Linked DNA regions of Homo sapiens: region 1 is linked to region 2. The links are contacts of gene promoters, found by promoter capture Hi-C in blood cells and fetal thymus (Javierre and others, 2016). All regions are on one chromosome and are shown on one strand. Each heading gives the region's core, a stretch centred on a gene start or on the middle of the fragment in contact. The rest is flanking DNA. Distances are from core to core; before and after follow the strand shown.

Region 1 (5,392 bases), core at 2,886-5,385, 820 kb before region 2:
AGGTGGAGATTGCAGTGATTAAGTAATAATACTATTTCCATGCTGAGCAAAGGGAAAAGGAGTTGATTACTTAGCACACAGTATGATTCTCAGATACACATTTAAATTGTTCCCTAGTGTTTTTATTGGTACCCTATGGTGGGTTTGTGGGGGCGATTGTTTTGAGTCAGCGTCTTACTCTGTCGCCCAGGCAAGAGTGCAGTGGCACAGTCATAGCTCACTGCAGCCTCAAACTCCTGGATTCAAGTGATCCTCCTGCCTCAGCTTCCCGAGTAGCTGGGACTACAGGTGCATGCCACCACACCCAGTGAATTTATTTTTTATTTCTAAAATTTTTTGTAGAGACAGCATCTCACCATGTTGCCCAGGCTGGTCTCAGACAATCCTCCCACCTTGGCCTGCCACAGTGCTGGGGATTACAAGCGAGAGCCACCACCCCAGCCCAATACCCAGTGTTTCATGCAACTTAAGTTTCAAGCTTTTAGGGGGATGGAGGAGATGCACTTGTGTTCCTAGGGTTAAGGCAAAAGAGGTGGTTAGTAGCACCAATTAATGTTAATCCGGGCATGAGTGGATAGCTATTTATATTAAACTGCCTGACCAATACCTTTAAGTTCTTCAGTAAGTGTTAATTTAATTGAAAAACATTTAGTTAACTATAGAAGCTGTGAAGATGTTAATTCGGCCAGTAAATTATTCATGACTGTTGGTGGGTTCGTTTGAGCTTTAATAGCTCCTAATAGACCTCATTAGTGCCTAAGAATGGCCCTGCAGTACTCCAGAGTTTCAGTTCCAGAAATCTCTTTTTTTGTGTTACTGAATCTTGGACTTGACAGTTCTTAATGTGATACGACAACCTGGAATGGGTTAATCCAGTTCAAGTGTTTCAAGATAACTTGTTTTCTCCATGTTGAGTTCTTTGGGTTCATTAATACACCTAAAGCATTAAGATAAAACCAATATACACAGTCTGTATTTTTTAAAGAAGAGATTATTTCTTGATTGGATAATTAAAACTATATAATTAAAGGTGGTATAACTGTTTACACTTGAATTGTGGCATAACTGTTTACACTTGAATTGTGGCGTCCTTTTGCTTATTAAGGATTAACTACCTTTTTCCTTTGGTTGTATATGGCAGCACTGGATTAGGTGCGAAAGGAGGCTGTGATAAAGAAATTTGAGTTTACCTCTCAGAAATTTGAAATAGAATTGGAGGAACAAGATACATAAAAACATGAAGTAAACAAAGTACAGAAATTGCTTGGTATCACTTGCTGCAAATTGCTTGGTGCAGGCAGTGGATGTTACTGCCCCATTCATTAGTAGGAATTAATGAATGAGTCTGCTGGAATGGTCAAGAAAGGCTTTTTTGTCACCTTGAAGATCACAACATAGTATTTTTTTGTGGGAAGACCCATATAAGCAAAGGTGGCTAGAATTCAGGAATCTCCCAAGAGTTGTGTTTAAGGATTAGGCGAGGTAATGGACTTCTGGTAGAACTGGAACACAGTAGAGAGTAAGGATGGAAGGTAGAATAGAGACACCTGGAATAGTAGTTCTTAATCCTGGCTGGAAGTCAGAAACACTTGGAGCAGGGGTTGGGGGGAGATAACAAGGCCTGGCACCTAACCTAGTGTAGTTAAATTTAGAATCTTTGTACGGGACTCAGGCTTTGATTTTGTTGGTTTTTGTTTGTTTGTTTGTTTAAGGTTGCTGGGGGTGGGTGGATAGCCAGGATTAAAAACTTCCCATCTAGAATGGTGGAAAAATAACTGAAGATGTTTGACAGGGGAGATGAGAAATGAAATTGGAGAGTTTTTGTTTTGTTTTGTTTTTTGAGACAAGGTTCTGATCTGTCTCCCAGGCTGTAGTGCTGTGTCACTATCTTGTTCTCTGCAGCCTTGACTTCCCAGTCCTAAGTAGCTGAGGCTCCAGGCGTATACCACCATGCCTGGCTAATTTTTTGTATTTTTAGTAGAGATGGGGTTTCTCCACGTTGCCCAGGCTGGTCTGGAGCTCCTGGGCTCAAGCAGACCTCCTGCCAAGGCCTCCCAAAGTGCTGGGATTACAGGCGTGAGCCAACTCACCTGGCCAAAATTCAAGTTTTTGATAGTCTGGTGGTGGTATGTGACAGAAAATGGAAAGTGTGCACACTGGAAGTTGGCGGATATATTAGACACCTGAGCTAAAATATGTCACTTAGTAGGATAAGAGATGAATACAAAAGATATAGCGAGGGAAATACTAACACAACTTGCAACATTGGGTATGGTGATGGAGAGGGGAAGAATCAAGATAGTTAAAGAAGTGGCCCTACCTCAAACCAGTTGTATTACTCTGAGTGGAGGCTGGGCATAGGTTTGTTTTTGTTTTTTTTTTTTTAAAGCTTCCCAAGTATTTGAGCACCATTACCCTGAGACATATATCTAGTCTGGGTAATAGGAGAATGATCTAAATAAAGTTGAAAGATCAGACAAGTGTATGTAACATTTGATATTTGAAGGAACATGGGATGTTAGAGAATAGAAAATGGCCAGATCAGCTGTTATTGAGTTTTTATTTTACATGTGAGGAAAGTGAAACTTAGAGAGATTAAATAACTTGTTCATGGTATTTACTAGTACCAGTGATTGCGATTAGGCTCTTCTGGTCTGAGCTATTTAATCAGCTCTGACCTCTCACCTGATAATCATTCTTCTGATGTTTTCAAATATCCATTTCTCAGCACGTACACCTTTTTCTTATCTCTGTAGAAATAATTTTCGTTAACACCATTTTGTAACTTTGGAGTCAGTGCAAAATTGTTGTTTATTTTATAGCTAATATAAAGCAGAAATGTGATTTTTACTGATAAATAAATTTTATTTCTCTTCTATAGACATTTCTCATCTATTTACTGCAGCAGTGCAAATGAGATTTCTGTTTGCTTACTAAGTCATCTCCTTTAGGATTTCAAGACTTAATACCACTTTCATCAAAAACTAAGGCACTGTTTCCTGTTACATCACGTTGAAATGCTTCATAATCGGGCTCCGCTACACCTGTCACACTACATATCCTATTTCACTTCAGCCCAGCTCTCTGTTCTAGCCAGGCTAGCCTGTTGATTTTCCTCTGAAACAACAAGCCACACATGTTGCCACAGGCATTCATGCAGAAGACTTCACTTGATGCTGGGCTTAGAAAATCATAGAATGCATGGTCGCTGCTCTGAAGAAAGAATTTAGTGGCATATTCTCGCTTGACTTATGTGCTGTTTCATGCCTAGAATACTCAGCTATTTTCTTTCTCCTAGAATTCTGCCTGATTTTCCAGGTTCACTTCAAATTCCACTTATTTAAAAGCCTTGGTTGCTTTGATGGACATGCAGTTGTGGATAAACAATAAATAATATTTCTAGATAGTCTGTGACATAATAGATACCTAGATACTAATTGAGCAAAATAATTTTTGGCATTTTTGTCCTATACTCTGTTTTTTTTTTCCATGTTTACATCTTGTCTTTTCAGCAAGATTGTCTATGCTCTCATGGCAGGGACTTCTTTTATGTTTTCCACAGAGCTAGATCCTTATAAAATACTTGCACTAAATTAAACATTATGCCATGTAACTGAGCTTATTTGGGGGAAGAGGTCAATAAAGACTATGGAATAATTTGAGGTCTTGGGTATGAGATACCAAAGGAGGTAGTTGCTAGTACTTGAGAGATTGCTCCAAATAACATCAGATGAGCATGCTTCCAAGTTTCCTGCATTACTTGCATGACCCATGATTCTAAGTTAATGAAATGAGTTTGTCCCTCTTCTCACCCACTGTCCCTGATTATTTTATGTATGTTATACTTAATGTCTTCATTTTTTACCTTTAGTATGAAGTGTAACAGAACAGACTTTACCACCTGAAACTGCTGCTTCAAGTTCAGATCAGGCAAGGAACAAACCTCGTAACAACTAACAAGACCAAAGAAGAGTACACTTAAGTTGAAGACACAACACTTGATCTGAAACAAGAAGTTTGTGCCTACTCAACAGCTTTGAAAGAGCACTTCCCAACGCTGCTAGTAGTCTTTGTTTTCTTCAGTGCTGTACTGTGAGATTGCCCGGTACAGCAGCAGTTGTATTCTTTATTAGCTTGGTAGATCATTTTCTCTCGCTCTTTTTTTTAATACTAGCAACTTTCATCCTTTGAAACGTGTGCTGAAAAAGAAGAATCAGCAAATACTACTGAAAGTGCAATATTTGAGTATCACTGCGAGGTAGGTTTGTAATTTCCTATTAAGAATCAGTTCCATAATTCTAGATTTCCTGATTATTTGGTCAAATATAAAATCTTTATTTGTTCTTTTCTAAAGGTATTCAGAAGACAGTTTTTCTATTCTCAACTAGTATGAAATATCAACACTATCTCTTGTTAGATAAGGACAGTATTTATGGTCAAACATTTTTCATACCAGATTATATTAATACATGCTGATCTCTCGACTTGCTGGTCTCTTAGAGAAGCTCCGTCTGTACTATTTAGAAGTTAGGATTTCAAATAAGAATGTGCATTGCAGTCTTTCTATGAGGGTCTGTGAAACTTTGGTGATATTTGCTACTGACGTCTGTTTCTTTCTCTCTACTGTCTTCAATGTTAGCTTCTTGAGGAAAGAACCTTACTTTATATCCATGCCTACATTTGCAGTGCATATTTGTGAACGGTATACAGTGCACATTTGTAAATGGTTGACATGCCTACTGTATTGTTAGGCATTGCTAGTGCTGAAATATAACGAATGAATAAGATACTAATGGACTTAATGATTTAGAACAATTTGTTACACAATATCACAATATAGGCTAAAAGATACTAATAAAATATTAAGAATATAACTGAAGCTGTTCCCTTGGAGGTAAGGAGGAGGGTAAAGAAAGCCTACAGAAAAGGGATATTTGAAGGTGAGTAGTACCTTGTTAAGAGGTAGAAGAGACATTGGTAGAGGTATAGAGGTAACAGAATTAGCAGATTCAGGGCTACGTGAAAGCACATGGTATATATTAAGTTGTTCATTATGAACAGAGTAGAGAATATAATTTTGCGGGAGAGTTATGAAAGGGAAGTTTGCTGGAGGCTTGGCCCAATGCATTTGTCTTTATTCCGTAGGAGAGCCATCAGATGTCTATAAGCAAGGGCTTAAGGGTTTTTCCCCCAAAAGTAAGATAGCTTTATTGCTTCACATTTTAAAGTAATATTCAGAAGTGTACCTTTAAAAGACAAATGGTGACACTTTTGAGGGAAAGGCTGAGGATGGGAAGACCTGTCAAAAGCAGTGGATCAAGTATAAGGAAGATAAAAGCTAAGGTGTAGGTAGAGAAAAAGGTAGGTGCTAGGTGTTCTGATGATTTAGAAG
Region 2 (5,930 bases), core at 2,782-5,281:
CCAAGTCTCTCTGGGTTCCCACAATAGACCTTGCCTTCTCTGGCCCTAGTTCCTTCAACATGTTTCCTCTCTGAACTTCATTTTCCCCCTTAGGCTTTTCTTTTCCTAACTTTTACTTACCCTTCTAGTCTCTGCTTAAAGCTCACTTCTTCAGTGTGGCAGAGGCTGTTGCTTTGTATCAAAATCAATAGTTCACTTAGATTTATTTGGAATGACTACGGCAACAGAACAAAAGAAAAGTAAGTGCTTTGTGTTTAGTAAAAAGGTACTACATTTTAGTACCTGCACATAACAGTCTATAGGTCTATAAAGCTTAGAATTAAGAAAACTATACCTTGAGGAGTTTCCAGGATAAGAAAAAGTTAAAATTAACAAAGCAGAGATCAATATGAAACATAAACAATATGCCAGCAAAGGCTGAAGGAAAACGGGACTTAAGTAAGGCAACAGCAGTTTGGAGAATGGAAGATGGAGGAGGCTCTTTCAGAAGAATGAGATGACTTTTGCTATGCTAGTATGCCAAAGGATGTGGAAAAATAAAAAACCGTGTAGAGTAAGGAGATATATTTAACTGGAGCAGAAGACACTAGCAAAAAAGTACTGGAACTCTTACAGATAAAAGGGACCTTAAAGATTCTAAAACCCCCTAATTCCGAGATGAGAAAAAGGCGATCCAGGCCAGGCATGGTGGCTCACGCCTGTAATCTCAGCACTTTGGGAGGCCGAGGCAGGTGGATCACTTGAGGTCAGGAGTCTGAGACCAGCCTGGCCAACATGGCAAAACCCTATCTCTACTAAAAATACAAATATTAGCCAGGCATGGTGGTGCGTGCCTGTAGTGCCTGTAGTCCTAGCTACTTAGGAGGCAGAGGTATGAGAATCACTTGAACCCACCACTGCACTCCAGCCTGAACCCACCACGGCACTCCGACCTGGGCGACAGGGCGAGATCTTGTCTCAAATAAAAAAAAAAAAAAAAAAAAACAGATCCAAAAAGGCCAAACGAGTTTTACCCAGCGCTAATGAGTAGCAATGCTGGCAAAGGTCTTCTCATTCTTTTTCCTTAAGCACTCTGGGAAAGCACTGTACCAGGTACCCTTAAAGAATCTAAAAGAAATGTAAGTTTCCTTACCTTCAAAAAACTTAAAATGTTGCTGAAATGATATAACACATGAAAAAGAAAGAAAAATATGAAAACAGGATGTAAATTTTTCAAGTGCCAAATTATGCACTACAGGAATATATTAGGCATTTAGGAGCTGGGTTCCAACAACTAAAGGGAAGATCAGGAACAAAAACAAAAGGAACCAAAAGACAAACCAGTGATTGTTGAAGTGGTACTTAAAGGAAAATAATCTTGATGACTTGTGTTCAGAATGGCACAAAGGGAGAGGAAGGGAAGATAACGGGAGGAATAATAGTAAATTTTTTTTAAAAAGACCTAAAAAATACAGACTGCTGTTATACACTCATGCAGGTGGCAGATCAAGCAGCTCATGTTTGCAAAATTACTTCAAATTACAAGACCAGTTACAATATATAACTAACAAGCTGCACAAGTTCCAAGTGTAAGAACTTTACAAGGCCGGTATGACTCACTGATTTGTACCAACAAATCATTGATGGAGCTGTGCTTATAAAAACAAAAGCACAGAATGAAAGAAGTTTATTTTCCAAAGAATTGTGAACTTTGAGATTATCTCTTCTTTTTTTTTCTTTTAGAAGGAAGTTCTGGTTTGGTTTGAAGTCTCAAGTTACCAACGAACTTGCTCAAAAAACCACAAAACTACAGTGTCGAGAGATAAACTATTCATGAAGGTATCACCAGCAAAAGTTCTACTTGCCAACCAGAGCCAGTATATTTATAAGATCTCATTCACCATTTTATTCTAAGATACTTTACTGGCTTGGCTGCCTCCAGTTCCAACCGCAAGTACTTTACTAAAATATCTTTCAAGCCAGGAACAGTATCTTAAAGTCAATGCCACCCTTCATCATAACAGTATTATAACACAGAACCCTGAGATAATTACATGTAAAGATCCAAAATCACCAGCTGAATAATGAAAATTAGGTCAAATGATTTGTTAGATTTTAAAATGTTTTATAGAAAGCTTTAGGCTTCCATATGAAAAAAGCTAGTAATAGTTTGCATTCTCTATAATCTTACAAAAAAAAAAAAAAAACCCACAGACCAGAGATCAAAAATAGCTTTACACAAACAAAAGGAAAATTGTAGGTTTGCTGAGGGCATCAGCCACTTAATTTAACCCTATTTCATCAAGAGCGGGAAGCCACACTGCTGTTTTCACCAGTTACTAAGAAACAAGATAAAGGACAGATTGGGACAGAGAGTCTATAGCTGAAAGTATTATGTTGATGCAATTACTGAGAATTCCCAAAGTGTCACTAATAGACAAGAAAGAGCATCTAGGACTGCCTCTAAATGAGTCTACCTACAACAGAATCAGTGATTAAGTAAAGAAAAGACTTACTGGAGCTTGGGGGTTTTCCCCCCCTCTTCCCTACCCGCATCCTCCCATCCTGAACCCCCCTCCCCAAGTAGGAAAGAAAGCTCGCCCAGCATAAACACAGGCCATTGCTCACAGCTCGTCACCACAACAAACTGGAGGTTAGACCAACGCTCCTGGAGACGGAACTCCACGTCTTGGTTGCTAAGCACAAAAAGGGGACTCTTCCCCACAGACCTGTGAACAGTGTGGGCCTTACCAGAATTTTGGTTGTTTCTCCACCTTCCCCCTCCCTTTTGTTTTTTTAACGAAAGCTTTGAAAGTGGTGGCAGCAAAAGTTTCCCTTTGGGCCAGACCTCTAGATCTCCCTTGTACAGATATACATTAGGTGGGCTGGTCTCACGTAGTCTCCACCGTCATTACGAATTACAAGCCTAACGACTACAGAACATCAGCGGAGACGACAGAAAAGCTTCCACACCCACCCCACTGTCGTCCTCTCCAGGCACGGCTTCCTGGTCCCAAACAGCACAAATAACCCAAAACCATGGTGATAAGCGGAGCTGTGAAGTACACACGCACAAGCCACACACTGGGAACCTGCCACGACAGCCGGGGAAAAAACCGGCCGAGTGAGGAGACGCAAGGCGGTCCCCTGTCACTTAAGGACAACACGCCCAGGCGAGAAGTGGCAGGAGGCAGGGGGAGTTGCCCCGAAAACCAGCCCGGAGCCTCCCCACCTTCCTGGGAAGGCAATCCCCTCAGCGGCAGTGAGCGGCCGGGCCGCAAGACGCGGCGCCCGGTCCCAGGCAGGGGCCCTTTGAGGAAGGCGCCCCCGGCAGGCTGGGCGCTCCAGGAGAGCCGGCGGCCGGCCCGGCCCCGCCTCAGGGAGCTGAGGGGAAGTCGCTCCCCGCCGAGGACCCCTCCTGCCCGTCCCCACTCACCGCCGGTGTGTCTGGTTCTCAGCCGCGAGCTGGGGCTGCCGTGAGGAGGCGGCGGAGGAGACGAGATCTGGGGCCCCGCAGCCGGGTCATCATACCCCCCGCGCGAGCCGGCCCGGGCCCCGGCCCCCGCCCCCCGGAGCCGTCCCCGCGCCCGTCCCGCAGGGGGAGCCTCCTCAGCCTCCCTCCCGCTCCACCACCCAGCCCCTTCCCGCCGCCGCCGCCGCCGCCTCAGCCCCGCGCGCTCCCGCCTCGGCCTCCTGCTGCCGTCCGGGGCTACCGCCGGGCCCCTTGCTCCGCAGCCGCCGTTGTCGCCAGACCCGACGAACGGAATGCCGAGCGGCCGTCCCTCAACCCGGCCGGCCCCGCCTCGCCGGAACTATTCACCCGCCCCGCGCCATGACACCTACTGAGGCGGAAGTGCAGCTGAATGGACTCTCTAGGACGATCGCATAGTACTGATTGCAGTAGGAGTCGGTGGGCCTCGAGTAGGTGGGCCTCCGTAGGGAGCCAGCGTGGATCGAGTGCGGGGCCTGGACTTCCCGCCCCCTCCGCACTGCAGACTCTGCGGTGATTTAAAGGTGCCTGGCGGTGGTACGGGATCCAACTGTAAAATGTCATCCCAGCTAGTGTGACATCACCACAGTTTAGTGTGACACCCCCAGAGCTTGGGCAGTGTACGGGACGACAGTGCCTAGCAGAGGAGCTTCACTGCCGGTGAGGGATTACCTCAGGTTAGGCTTTAATGTTTCGTTGCCGTCTAGAGACGTTCTAGCAATGTGACATCTGTGTACCATATCTGGAAGTCTCCCTGTACGTCAAGAGCCCCTTAGGGGAGTCTCCCATTGCCGCCGTGGGAACCTGTGTTTACATTACGAGGAGAGAGAATAGCTGTACTCTGAACTCAAACGCTCAAAACATGCAGTGAGCGAATGCTAGCATAATTTTCTTGCCTCTACCAGAAGGAAGGCTGGGTATTTAGGAAACAGAACGCGTTGGGCACAACATTCTGAGAAAATGGACACAGAAAATTAGGTTATCCTAATAGAAAAGCAGTTGCATCTCCCAAAGTCAAGAGATTCTGTAGGACTTCCGATGTATCTCCTGCTGTGTAAAATATTCAGGTTCCTGAAGTGGGGGACATTTTTAGGGCAACTGTAATTTCTTCATTTTTTCCATCCCACAAGTGCTGGAGGCAGCAGTGATCTGAGCTCTAGAAAGTGACTGTCCGTCACCATCGGTATTTGCATATACTCTGTGAGGAGAAGGGCAGTTGTGGCTAAGACAAAATTCTACTATCAAGTTTTGTTTCTCAAATCTCACTCATTAACATCTTTGATTTCCTTGGATCCCCATAACACACACAGAAAACTATGATTTGTGTAAAATGCGCTGAAGTACCTTTTAAGGGAAGTCATTTGGCTTTCTCTCTGGCTTAACAACACGGGGAGCAGTTCCATTTTATCTGGAACAGGGAAGTTTATTTCCCTAGAGAACTAGGGTTACCAAAAATGTTCGATCCCACAAGGCAGTTTTGTTTGCATATTTTCACAGAAACTTCCTTCTACTACTTAAAGTCCTCACATTGGGCTGACCTGGGAAACATGAAGATAAAAAGAGTGGGTAAACATGCCTGCTTGATGAGCCAGAAAAAAAGGCAGAAACCTGTGGTCTGGGTAGAACAGATCCTGCTCAGAATGTAAGCTTCAAACATGTTTATCATGCCTTGGTTCAACCTAACTCTCTGACATGTTCCTAAACTCCTGCTCTCTCAAGTTATGTCCCTTTCCTCTTTTCAAATATCTCTCAGAATTCACCCTTTCGGGAACCTTTGCTGATTGACTCCTATTTTATTTGAATTCTGCATCATCATCTGATTACTTAAATTAACCTGTACCTTCTTTATTTATACTTGTTAACTTCTATTTTCATTGCTCTTAGGTCCTCAGTCTTTCTCACTATACGGAGAGCTTCTTAAAGTCTGTATTTTCTCCTCTTTAGTATCATTCACTCATTCATCCAGCAAACTGCTTGTGTGCCTGCTCTGTGCTATACACTCTTCTAGACACTGGGTCAGGTATGAATGAGACAGGTGAATAAAGCATGGTCTTTTCCCTCAGGGACCTTACAGTCTAATGAGGAAAAAACGTGTGCAGACATATATAAGATAAGTGAGAGAGTCGGAGAAGAACATCAGAAGTGATATTTGAGCATAGTAAGGTCAAAGAAGTTTCAAAGTTTAGTCATTTGTCCATTCAGTAACTATTTATAGAGCATCTTCTGTGTGCTAGGCACTATATAAGAAATTAAGGGGCTGGGTGTGGTGGCTCATGCCTGTAATCCCAGCACTTCGGGAGGCTGAGGCAGGTGAATCACCTGAGGTCAGGAGTTCGAGACCAGCCTGGCCAACATGGTGAAACCCCGTCTCTACTAAAAATACAAACATTAGCCAAGTGTAGTGGCGCATGCCTGTAATCCCAGCTACCCTGGAGGCTTAAGCAGAAGAACCGCTGGAACC

What was found. The method cuts DNA at HindIII sites, captures the fragments that hold promoters and counts their contacts. A CHiCAGO score of 5 or more calls a contact.
Region 1: a contact is called between a fragment that was not itself captured here and the fragment with the promoter of HIPK1 in region 2, in 1 of 17 cell types (monocytes). The highest score is 5.8, in monocytes.

What each region holds. Positions count from the first base shown.
Region 1 is chr1:114,748,687-114,754,078 of GRCh38, reverse strand. CSDE1 (cold shock domain containing E1) reads left to right here. Exons shown (of 20, transcript NM_001007553.3): 2 at 3,872-4,258. Among named protein-coding and RNA genes, the nearest start is that of CSDE1, 6.6 kb to the left of the region's middle. The HindIII fragment of the contact is 3,487 bases long and covers 2,392-5,392 here.
Region 2 is chr1:113,927,425-113,933,354 of GRCh38, reverse strand. HIPK1 (homeodomain interacting protein kinase 1) reads right to left here and starts at 4,031. Exons shown (of 16, transcript NM_198268.3): 1 at 3,823-4,031. HIPK1-AS1 (HIPK1 antisense RNA 1) reads left to right here and starts at 3,830. Exons shown (of 3, transcript NR_110726.1): 1 at 3,830-3,993; 2 at 4,967-5,111. RefSeq lists silencers at 3,301-3,610, 3,631-3,680 and an enhancer at 3,801-4,120. The HindIII fragment of the contact is 2,173 bases long and covers 2,946-5,118 here.